Regions from separate parts of the Homo sapiens genome. Here regions 2 and 3 are each linked to region 1. Evidence: promoter capture Hi-C in 16 types of primary human blood cells and fetal thymus (Javierre and others, 2016). All regions are on one chromosome and are shown on one strand. The core of a region is centred on a gene start or on the middle of the fragment in contact, and the rest is flanking DNA. Distances in the headings are between cores, read along the strand shown. Region 1 holds the start of LINC00852 (long intergenic non-protein coding RNA 852). Region 2 overlaps EMC3 (ER membrane protein complex subunit 3). Region 3 overlaps EMC3-AS1 (EMC3 antisense RNA 1).

Region 1 (3,514 bases), core at 486-2,985:
AGGCGGTGACCCGTCACCCCTGGGGAACAGCAGGGGTAGCATTCACCCCGCTGTGCAAACGAGGAAACCAAGACTCAGAGCTTTGAGGTGACTTGCCCAGGGCACAACAGTCCACACTTGAGTGCCGCCCTCTGACTCCAAGGCCAGTGCTTCCCCACAACCCCCACCATTACATCCCACCTCCAATCTCACCACCGTGGAAGAAAAGCACTAGCAGGACGGTGCACCCAGCATTCTTACTCAACCTCTTGCTTTCCAGAGGCCCCAGCCGACAAGTGATCGCCCACAAGCCTTACTCACCTCTCTCTAAGTTTAGAAGCGCTCATCTGGCTTTTCGCTTGCTTCTGCAGCAACTCCCACGACTGTTGTACAAGCTCAGGAGGCGAATAAATGTTCAAACTGTATGCTGATGTTCCAAATGGGAATTTATTTCAAAGAGGAAAAGTTAATATTTTACTTTAAAAAAATCAAAATAATACAAATAAAAATAATTCTTGGTTTATGGTCTGTGGGAAGGGAATAAAAGGACAAGTAGCAAGGCCAATGTGCATGTTTAGAAAACCTAATCACACCAGCTCACTCAAGCAGAGAAGCTACTGCATGTGCATGCATTGTGTGGAATTAAGACTGGGTTTCTTAGAGAAGGAGGAGAGAAAGGGGGAGAGTAGGAGGGAGAGGGGAAAAGGAGGAGGGAGAGGAAGAGAAAGAAGAGATAAAGTGGGACTAAGAGAAAGAGGGAAGAGAGGAAGAACAAAGACACAGTTCCTTTAAACATCAGGGCTTCCTGAGTGCAAGGCTGCATTAACAGCTTATTAACAACCAGCCAGGGCTGTGTGGACAAAGAAACTTCAGGATGACATTATCGAAGCCAACATCCATTCAAGATTGGAGAGGAAGACAGGAATGCCCAAGAGTGAATCTGAAGTTAGACGTTAAGTGAGGTGCCCAATCACGGCTCTTGGGCACTGCTAGACAGCACTGAAAGAGCTGCATTCTCCTTCCTCCCTTCTCCACTACTGAGAAGGCCTGACAAAGCAAATGCCTCACATGGGCAAGGCTGGCCGTCGCCATGGTTCCCTTACTGATACCAGGTGGGATCCCCAAACATTCCCTCAACTCCAGTTCACAGCAGACACGAGCCTTGACTCTTATGTTCCACAACTTAATTCCAGTTACGACACTGGTCTTCCCGGGGGAAGGCCACTCGGTCATGCCCACCTTAGCCTAAACATGTGGACTGACTTGACTGTAGGCAACGGATGGGACACATCGCTAAGGGGAGGGAAAGGCAAAGAACGAGGTGGCCCCAAAGAGCAGCACCACAGACTTGCCAATTCAGCCATCTGAGCGCTTGTGGGAAACATGCAGGAAGCCGTCTGCAGAGACAGTTGGGGTAATGCCCACACTCTGGAAAACCCCTACCACAGAGGGTGCTAGGAGCCGAGCGTCTCCCCAAGTAAAATTCTGGCCGCCACACATGCAGGCACTAACTACTGATCAGGTGCGGCAGGCAGACAGAAACCCAACTGCTCTCCCTCACATAGAAGCTGTGGTCTGTGAATGCCACCGTCATCCAGGGACTCTTAGAAATGTAGAATCTTGGGCAGCACCCCAGCCCTAATCTATCAGGATCTGCATTTTAACAAGATCCCCAGGCTACTTAGTAAACGGCTGATGGGAAATGGCTTAGAATCCCCTTCCCAGGCGTCACAGCACACTGCAGGCCCCCTACTCACCCCTCCACCCTCAGACAGCCATGCCCCTACCTCCCCAGGCACCTGGCACAAGTGGGTACAGAGATCAACACACTTGTCCTGGAACTTAACTGTCTCAGCTCTGTCACTTAGTTGGGATACGACCTTGATTATCACTAACTGCCCACAGCCCTCTTATCAATAGCTACAGAAGAGGAGCAAAGGCCCAATATGGCCAAAGTGGTCAGGAGATGGTTTCTTTTTGAGAAAGCACCACTGATTGGGCTTGGGAGAGGATGGGTACCAGGCTCTGGACAAATGCTGGTCACCTGATGCTTCCCCCACCAAAGACAAGAACTTACTTCTCTCTCAAAGAAATCACAAGCATTATTAACCGCCTGCCTGGGTCATTCAAATAGAAACAGATATTGCGCACCCACTATGGGCTGGGCACTCTCACCTGTGCCAGGCAACAAGGTGTAGTGCAAAGATCTGGGCTTTGGCCTCGGACCTGAATTTGGATACCAGCTCTGTGATCCAGGCCAAGACTGAATTTCTCAGGCTCCTCACATGTAAAATGCCTACCTTGCTGGGTTACTGCCAAGACTGAACATGAGGTCTCACATGAGCTGTAGCTGGCAAAGGGCCCGGCACGTAGCTAAGCATTCAATTACTACAGCAGCCAGCACTCACTGTCACACCCCTGATGTACACCAGGCACCGTGTTAAATGCTCATGCAGATTAATGTGATTTCACTTCATTTTCACAGCAAGCCTACTTATGAGGGAGAAAACTAAAGCTCAGAGAAATTAAGTAACTTTCCTAAAGCACACAGCAAGCACGTGGCCGACTCACAGCCAACGCCACAGGACTCAGGGGCTGCTTTTTCATCCGGTTCCACAGCCTCTCAGCCAGTGCAGCTTCCCTCGCTCTACTGCCTAGGATGAGAGAGGTTTCCATATTCATTCATTTTCCTTCAGAATACACTGGGTGAACTTGGTAGAGGGGTGAGGACAATTTCAAGTCAACAATGGGCAGAAATATAATTTATCAAAGAAAATGGTTGGAGGACACCCTTGAGAAAATGTATTATTTCAAACATGTTCCTGTATCAGCTTTCTTAAACCCACTCCTTTATGGATCGTTTAATGATACCACTGTAACTTGAGGGTCTCTAAAGTGGGGTGTATGTACCCCTAGGGTGAGCGAGCTATTTGCTGGAGAAAAAAATTCTCCTTGTGAAAAAACTTTTACTTTGTGTATAATTAGCATAAGAGCACACGTATTTAAGTTCTCATGCACTTATAGTTGTGTGTTCAGAAATCATCTTGAGAGAGTGCACAGAAAAGGGTTGAGACGCCTCAACTAAGCTACCCACCTTAATCTGAATCCACCTACAAATGTCACTGGCATTTGGGGGGCCGAGGCAGGTGGATCACCTGAGATGAGGAGTATAAGGCCAAACAGGCCAACATGGCAAAATCTCATCTCTACTTAAAATTTAAAAAAAAAAAAATTAGCCAGTCATGGTATTGGGCGCCTGTAGTCCCAGCTACTCAGAAGGCTGAGGCACGAGAATCACTTGAACCTGGGAGGTGGAGGTTGCAGTGAGCTGAGATCAGGCCACTGCATTCCAGCCTGGGCGACAGAGTGACACTCAGTCTCAAAAAAAAAAAAAAAAAAAAAAACCAAAACCAAAAAAAAATGTCACTGGCAAATGAGCACTTTTTAATACAGTGATCCTGAGAGGGACTGGCTGGCCACTAATCACCATCTTTGACAGAGTTTGCTTCTTTAATCACTGTACATTCCGGTGGCC
Region 2 (3,514 bases), core at 604-3,103, 310 kb after region 1:
GACAAAATGGGGATTACTAGTGGTAATCTTGACTACTTGGTTTGAGCAGAGCCCTCTAGGATGTGTGGGAGGAGCAGGAAAGGCCAGAGGCTGGGAAGGCTGGGCCATGCACAGTTCTGCTAGAGAAGAAAAGCTGTACATTATATGAGTAGCATGAGTCTATTCTACTTTTACCTTCAGTCTCATTGGGCTAAACAAAAACTTCATGGGTTGGAGAAAAGCTTATTTATCTTTTCTCAGCATCCAGAGAGGCATGTGACTGAAATGCAGTCATGGACAGACGCGAGACTGGAACCTGAGTGTACAATTACCACTGTGGTGAGATCAGCAACATTGTATTCAGACAGGCCATTTACTTACCTGCAGCCTATGGAGTAACCAGAATAGACTCTTGCCCTTATGTGACCCACTTGTTGGAATGAGTGTGGATCTTTCCATTTATCTATCACTTCCCATATGCATTTTTGTTTTTAGTTTTTATTATATGCAAGCATATTTATTTTATGGAGGTTGAGTAGGAAACCTAAGCTAAAGGAAGCCTCAGTGATATAGTTCAAAACTTGGAATGGCTCTCCCAGTAGCTATAGTCCTCGGTACTGTATTTCCTGAAATCCATGTCTCATCCCTTCTTGTAAGTATGGAACACACCCAGTGGCTCACGCCTGTAATCCCAGCACTTTGGGAGGCTGAGGTGGGCGGATCACTTGAGGTCAGGAGTTCGAGACCAGCTTGGCCAACATGGTGAGACCCCATCTCTAATAAAAATATAAAAATTAGCCAGGCATGGTGGTGTGTGCCTGTAGTCCCAGCTACTCAGGAGGTTGAGGCAGGAGAATCTCTTGAACCCAGGTGGCAGAGGTTGCAGTGAGCCAAGATTGCGCCACTGCACTCCAGCCTGGGTAACAGGGTGAGACTCCGTCTCAAAAAAAAAAAAAGTATGGAACACACCAACACTTGTGATTTCCTCTAGGGAATGGAATTCAGAATGGGAGTCACCTTTGGATTTTTTGAAATATAGTTCTGTATTGGTGAGACTGCTTTAACAACTTGTATTTCTTCTGTGGTTGTGCTTTGGATGAATATAGCCCATCCAAGGTGACTTCTTTACAAACACTGAACAACTTTGGGTGGTAGGGAAGTGGGAACTGCATTACTCTCTGATATAATAACTAACCACACCATTTTCATTTTGCTTTGCCAGGGTGAGTTCTGCATCCTGGTACTTCCTCAATGTATTTGGGCTTCGGAGCATTTACTCTCTGATTCTGGGCCAAGATAATGGTAAGAAGCATGTCAGGTTTACTAAGCAAATACTTCCATAGATGAATCATCCATATTAGAGCCAGAAAAGTCTTGTAGGTTGTGCTGTTTGTTACCATAGTCAAATAAAATGTTTCCTTCCTTAAGTTTCTGAGGTATTCTGAAAGAGTCTTAAAAATTCCGGGGGTCAAACTGAAGATCTCAATTCTCTCTGGCAATGACTGGGACAGTATTTTGATTCCCCAGAGTCTGATACCATCATGTGAGGGATCCAGCACCAGCAGTGTAAGCCTGTGAACCTAAAGCTTAAAGAAGGCTTGGTTTGTCAGTTCATTGACTAGAGCCCTTGCCAGTACTAATCCTTGCTCTCTTGTTTACTGGCTGGGACCTCAGAAAAGTTACTTAACAAGTTACTTAACTTCGAATTCTCTATTTACTTATCTGTAAATAAGGACTTTATTAGTTAACCTGTGGGGTTGTTAGGAACAGATGAGGAAAAATATGCAAAGCACTTAGTGAAGTACTTGGCATGCAGTAGTTGCTCAATAACTGGTGGCTGTTATTGTTGAAATTTGAAATAAAGTTTAGAGCTTCCTTTAGTGATCTCTCTTTTGCTGTTACTGTCCCCATTTTTCAGGAGACACAAAGTGACTTTCCTAGAGTCACATAGCCAGTGGGTGACAGGGCCAGCCAGTGAGGCTGTAGTCCAGTTCTCTAATCTGTGTGAAGCCCATTCTTCCCCTTGGGTGCTGGGGTGCTTGCTGAGTCCTGGCACTCATGTAAGTGTGTCTTATGCTACAGCCGCTGACCAATCACGAATGATGCAGGAGCAGATGACGGGAGCAGCCATGGCCATGCCCGCAGACACAAACAAAGCTTTCAAGGTATACTCCTTCACCTTTCAAAGCTGCAGCAATGCTCTGAAAGGTGTTACCAAGAGCTATTTTAAAAATAGCTTCCTTGAAGGGAGTGTTGTGTGGTTCCATCGTTTTAATTTAAACTTAGTAAAAACATAGTTTACACGTCTCTCTTTCCTGAGACAGAATCATCTATTAAGTAAATGGAAATTCTTGGTGCTTTTACTGGTTTTTAAATGCTCACTGGAATTTAATCCACACTATCAATGATGCTGTAAAATAATCCAATCGGAGGTGCCAGGTAAACATTTAGAATAATTTGAACCTTTTTGAACCCCATAGACATCAGATATAAATTGCATTAAAAAAACAATACTAAGAGCCTTTTCACAAAAAGGTTCTAGAATTTGCAAAATTTAGTATGATTTTTGTGGGACAAAATCTCACTGTGTTTCATGATAGAAACTAAAAGAGAAGGGAAGTTCCGGCCAGGCACAGGGGCTCACACGTGTAATCCCAGCACTTTGGGAGGCCAAGGTGGGCAGATCACCTGAGTTCAGGAGTTCGACACCAGCCTGGACAACATGGTGAAACCCTGTCTCTATTAAAAATACAAAAATGGGCCAGGTGCGGTGGCTCACGCCTGTAATCCCAGCACTTTGGGAGGCCAAGGCAGGTGGGTCAGCTGAGGTCAGGAGTTCAAGACCAGCCTGGCCAACATGGTGAAACCTCTTTTCTACTAAAGATACAAAAAAAAAATTTGCTGGGCATGGTGGTGGGCACCTGTAATCCCAGTTACTTGGGAGGCTGAGACAGAATTGCTTGAACTCAGGAGGTGGAGTTTGCAGTGAGCTGAGATTGATTGCACCATTGCACTCCAGCCTGGGCAACAAGAGCAAAACTCTGTCTCAAAAAAAAAAAAAAAATACAAAAATGAGCTGGGCACGGTGGCATGTGCCTATAATCCCAGCCACCCAGGAGGCTGAGGCAGGAGAATCACTGGAACCTGGGAGGCGGAGGCTGTAGTGAGCCAAGATCGTGCCACTGCACTCCAGCCTGGATGACAGACCAAGATTCCGTCTCAAAAAAAAAAAGAGAGAAATTTCTCAGCCTGATAAAGGACATCTATGACAGACCCACAGCTAACATCATACTCAATGGTGAAAGACTGAAAGCTTTCCCTTTAAGATTAAGAACAAGACAAGGATGTCTGTTCTTGCCACTTCTATTCATCATTGTCCAGGATGTACTAGCCAGGGCAGTTAGGCAAGAAAAAGAAATAAAAAAGCCATTCAGATTAGAAAGGAAGTAAAACTATCTCTGTTTGCAAATGGCATGGTGTTGTATGTAGATCATCCTAAAGAATCCACAAGAAAACTAACAGAGCTAATAAATAA
Region 3 (3,514 bases), core at 445-2,944, 290 kb after region 1:
TGACACTTACTAAGTAATGAACAGAGAATGTACTCTGGAGCAGCTGTTCTTGAATGCAGCCTGATCGAATCTTATTTCTTAGCACCCTTTCAATGTACTTCTTTGTCTGAGTATTGGTGCTATAGATGATGAAAAGCATCACCAGGTCAATAAATATGCAATAATAGAAAAACAGTTAACCAATCAGTACATTTGCTACAATGAAACAGCAGCTTTTCCTCTAATTAAAACACACAATGGATGATGCTCATTTGTTCCACACACTCCCCTGGTAGTATCTACACTTTTCACAAAACCCAGAAATATTTTTTAAAGAAATAAAGTGCCACAACTATTAACCACTGGTATCTCTTAGGAATACATTCCAATATACATTAAAGTGATACTACTACAGAAGTAACTTTGAACATCTTCACATTTATTAAAAGATTCAATCACTTGCCAACTCCAGTATGTATTTTCACTATTACTAGAAAAATTACTTTGTGAAAAGTTGGAAAGACTATAAATGCCCATCAATCTGGAAAGGGTTCAGTAAATTATGATGGAGTAATTTTAATTTTTGAAATATTATAGTCATCAAAAAGGATAAGCCAGGCTGGGCGTGGGGGCTCACACCTGTAATCCCAGTACTTTGGGAGGCTGAGGTACACATATCACCTGAGGTTAGGAGTTCGAGACCAGCCTGGCCAACACGGTGAAACCCCATTTCTACTAAAAAATACAAAAAAAAATTGGCCAGTCGTGGTGGCAACTGCCTGCAATCCCAGCTACTCAGGAGGCTGAGGCAGGTCAACGACTCGAACCCGGGAGGTGCAGGTTGCAATGAGCCGAGATTGTGCCACTGCACTCCAGCCTGGGTGACACAGCGAGACTCTGTCTAAAAAAGACTTTTTAATTACAAAATTTAAAAAAAAAAGAAAAAGGTAGATCAGGGGTCCCCAACTCCTGGATCACGGAGTCTGTGGTCTGCTAGGAACCAAGCTGCACAGCAGGAGGTGAGGGGTGGTCAAGTGGTCATTACCACTGAGATCCGCCTCCTGTCAGATTAGCGGCTGCATTAGATTCTCACGGGAGCGCAAACCCCATTGTGAACTGCACATGCGCAGGATCTAGGCTGCACATTCCTTATGAGAATCTAAGTAGTGCCTGATGATCTAAAGTTGAACAGTTTCATCCTGAAATCATGCCCCGAAACGGTCTGTGGAAAAACTGTCTTCCATGAAACCAGTCCCTGGTGCCAAAAAGGTTAGGGACTGCTGAGCCATACTCTATTTTTTGACAGAGGAAAGACATTCCTGATATGAAGTGGAAAAAACAGCAGCCTGCAAAAGGATAATCAGGCTGGGCATGAAGGCTCATGCCTATAATCCCACTGCTTTGGGAGGCTGAGGAGGGAGGATCATTGAGCCCAGGAGGTGGAGGCAACAGTGAGCTACGATTGTGCCACTGCACTCCAGCCTGGCGACAGAGTGAGACCCTGTCTCTTTAAACACCACCACCACCACCCATAATCATAGTTAAGATTCTGCTTTTGTAAAAACAATATATAAACATATATATGTGTAGGCATAAGAGTATACCTGTACTTGCACACAATTACAGCTTGTATATGAAGAGAAAAAATTTGGAAGGATGATTACCCCTGAGGAATGGGAAAGAGAGCAGAGAAAAACTGTATTTTTTACATCTGTAGATTCCTTGTGGATTTTTCTCCACAATTAGCTTGTTTACCTAAGTTTAAAAAAGAAAAATATGAGGGCTGGGTGCAGTGGCTCATGCCTATAATCCCAGCACTTTGGGAGGCCCAAGCAGGAGGATCACTTGAAGCTAAAAATTTGAGACCAGCCTGGGAAACACAGCAAGACCTCATCTCTATAAAAAATAAAAGAATGGCCGGGCGCGGTGGCTCACACCTGTAATCCCAGCACTTTGGGAGGCCAAGGCGGGCAGATCACGAGGTCAGGAGATCGAGACCATCCTGGCTAACATGGTGAAACCCCGTCTCTACTAAAAATACAAAAAATTAGCCAGGCGAGGTGGTGGGCGCCTATAGTCCCAACTACTCAGGAGGCCGAGGCAGGAGAATGGCGTGAACCCGGGAGGCGGAGCTTGCAGTGAGCCGAGATCGTGCCACTGCACTACAGCCTGGGCGACAGCGAGACTCCGTCTCAAAAAATAAATAAATAAATAAATAAATAAAAGAATTGGCCAGGCGTGGTGGCTCACACCTGTAATCCTAGCACTTTGGGAGGCTGAGGCAGGTGGGTGGATCACCTGAGTCAGGAGTTTGAGACTAGCCTGGCCAATATGGTGAAATCCCATCTCTGCTAAAAATACAAAAATTAGCCAGGCATGGTGGCAGGCACCTATAATCCCAGCTACTAGGGAGGCTGAGGCAGGAGATTTGCTTCAACCCAGGGGCCAGAGGTTGCAGTGAACCGAGATTGTGGCACTTCACTATAGCCTAGGCAAAAGAGCGAAACTCTCTCAAAATAACTAACTAACTAACTAACAGAATTAGCCAGGCCTGGTGGTGCTTGCCTGTAGTCCCAGCTACTCCAAAGACTGAGGTGGGGGGATCGCTTGAACCCGGGTGTTTGAGACTGCAATGAACTATGATGCTGTCACCGCACTCCACCTTCGGTGACAGAGCAAGACTTAGTCTCTTAAAAAAAAAAAAAAAAAAAAAAAAAGAGAAAGGCCCGGCACGGTGGCTCACACCTGTAATCCCAGGACTTTGGGAGGCTGAGGTGGATCATAAGGTCAGGAGATCCAGACCATCCTGGCTAACAACGTGAAACCCCATCTCTACTAAAAATACAAAAAATTAGCCGGGCGTGGTGGCAGGCGCCTGTAGTCCCAGCTACTCGGGAGGCTGAGGTAGAAGAATGGCATGAACCCAGGAGGTGGAGCTTGCAGTGAGCTGAGATTGCGCCACTGCCTGCACTCCAGCCTGGGTGACAGAGCAAGACTCTGTCTCAAAAAAAAAAGAGAAAACACTGGGAGTGTATTCAGGGCAATCTGAGTCTATGCTTCCAGGAAAAAAAAAAAAAAAAAGTTAAAAAGGCAAGCAGGACAAAAAAGAAAAAACAAATTTTACTACTTCTCTTAACTGAATGCTCCACTTCTTAGGACACCAAAATTTAGAGTCATTAGACCAGAATACAGTCATTAAAGATAACAATGAAGACAAAGCAGAAGCACATGGAGAAGAAAATGTTGAGAAAAAAGAATACAAATTATATTTATATTTATAAAATGATTACAAATACGTAAAAATAGGTATGCAGGCAGTCAAGGTGTTAAATTTGTGTTTATCTAAAACCAAAAACAGTGTGTTTGGAGTACTTTGATATTTCTCACCACAAAAAGTTATTCATTTTTTTCATTGCTTTATTCATCATCATGAAAGCTTTTAAGATAGTCATCCCAAAATTGGATAACAAAACTAACAAAAATCCCACAAAACAGATTCCAACCAAAGAAAAATCTTTAAAGGCAACCAATCAGC

What was found. Contacts are between HindIII fragments. The CHiCAGO score rates a contact against its expected background, and 5 or more counts as called.
Region 2: a fragment that was not itself captured here is called in contact with the fragment with the promoter of LINC00852 in region 1 in 6 of 17 cell types (endothelial precursors, activated CD4 T cells, non-activated CD4 T cells and 3 more); the score reaches 9.7 in endothelial precursors.
Region 3: a fragment that was not itself captured here is called in contact with the fragment with the promoter of LINC00852 in region 1 in 1 of 17 cell types (activated CD4 T cells); the score reaches 7.4 in activated CD4 T cells.

Annotation. Positions count from the first base shown.
Region 1 is chr3:10,282,640-10,286,153 of GRCh38, reverse strand. It overlaps LINC00852 (long intergenic non-protein coding RNA 852), which reads right to left and starts at 1,735. Exons shown (of 1, transcript NR_026829.1): 1 at 408-1,735. GHRL (ghrelin and obestatin prepropeptide) reads left to right here. Exons shown (of 6, transcript NM_016362.5): 6 at 260-488. The coding sequence ends at 279. It overlaps GHRLOS (ghrelin opposite strand/antisense RNA), which reads right to left. Exons shown (of 6, transcript NR_073568.1): 2 at 2,551-2,633; 3 at 301-406. The HindIII fragment of the contact is 4,911 bases long and covers 1-3,514 here.
Region 2 is chr3:9,968,349-9,971,862 of GRCh38, reverse strand. EMC3 (ER membrane protein complex subunit 3) reads left to right here. Exons shown (of 8, transcript NM_001394674.1): 6 at 1,202-1,281; 7 at 2,062-2,144. Among named protein-coding and RNA genes, the nearest start is that of EMC3, 17 kb to the left of the region's middle. The HindIII fragment of the contact is 571 bases long and covers 1,568-2,138 here.
Region 3 is chr3:9,989,508-9,993,021 of GRCh38, reverse strand. All of the region lies in intron 2 of EMC3-AS1 (EMC3 antisense RNA 1), which reads right to left. It also overlaps a transcript of EMC3 not described here and the pseudogene FANCD2P1. Among named protein-coding and RNA genes, the nearest start is that of EMC3-AS1, 4.4 kb to the right of the region's middle. The HindIII fragment of the contact is 3,447 bases long and covers 1-3,417 here.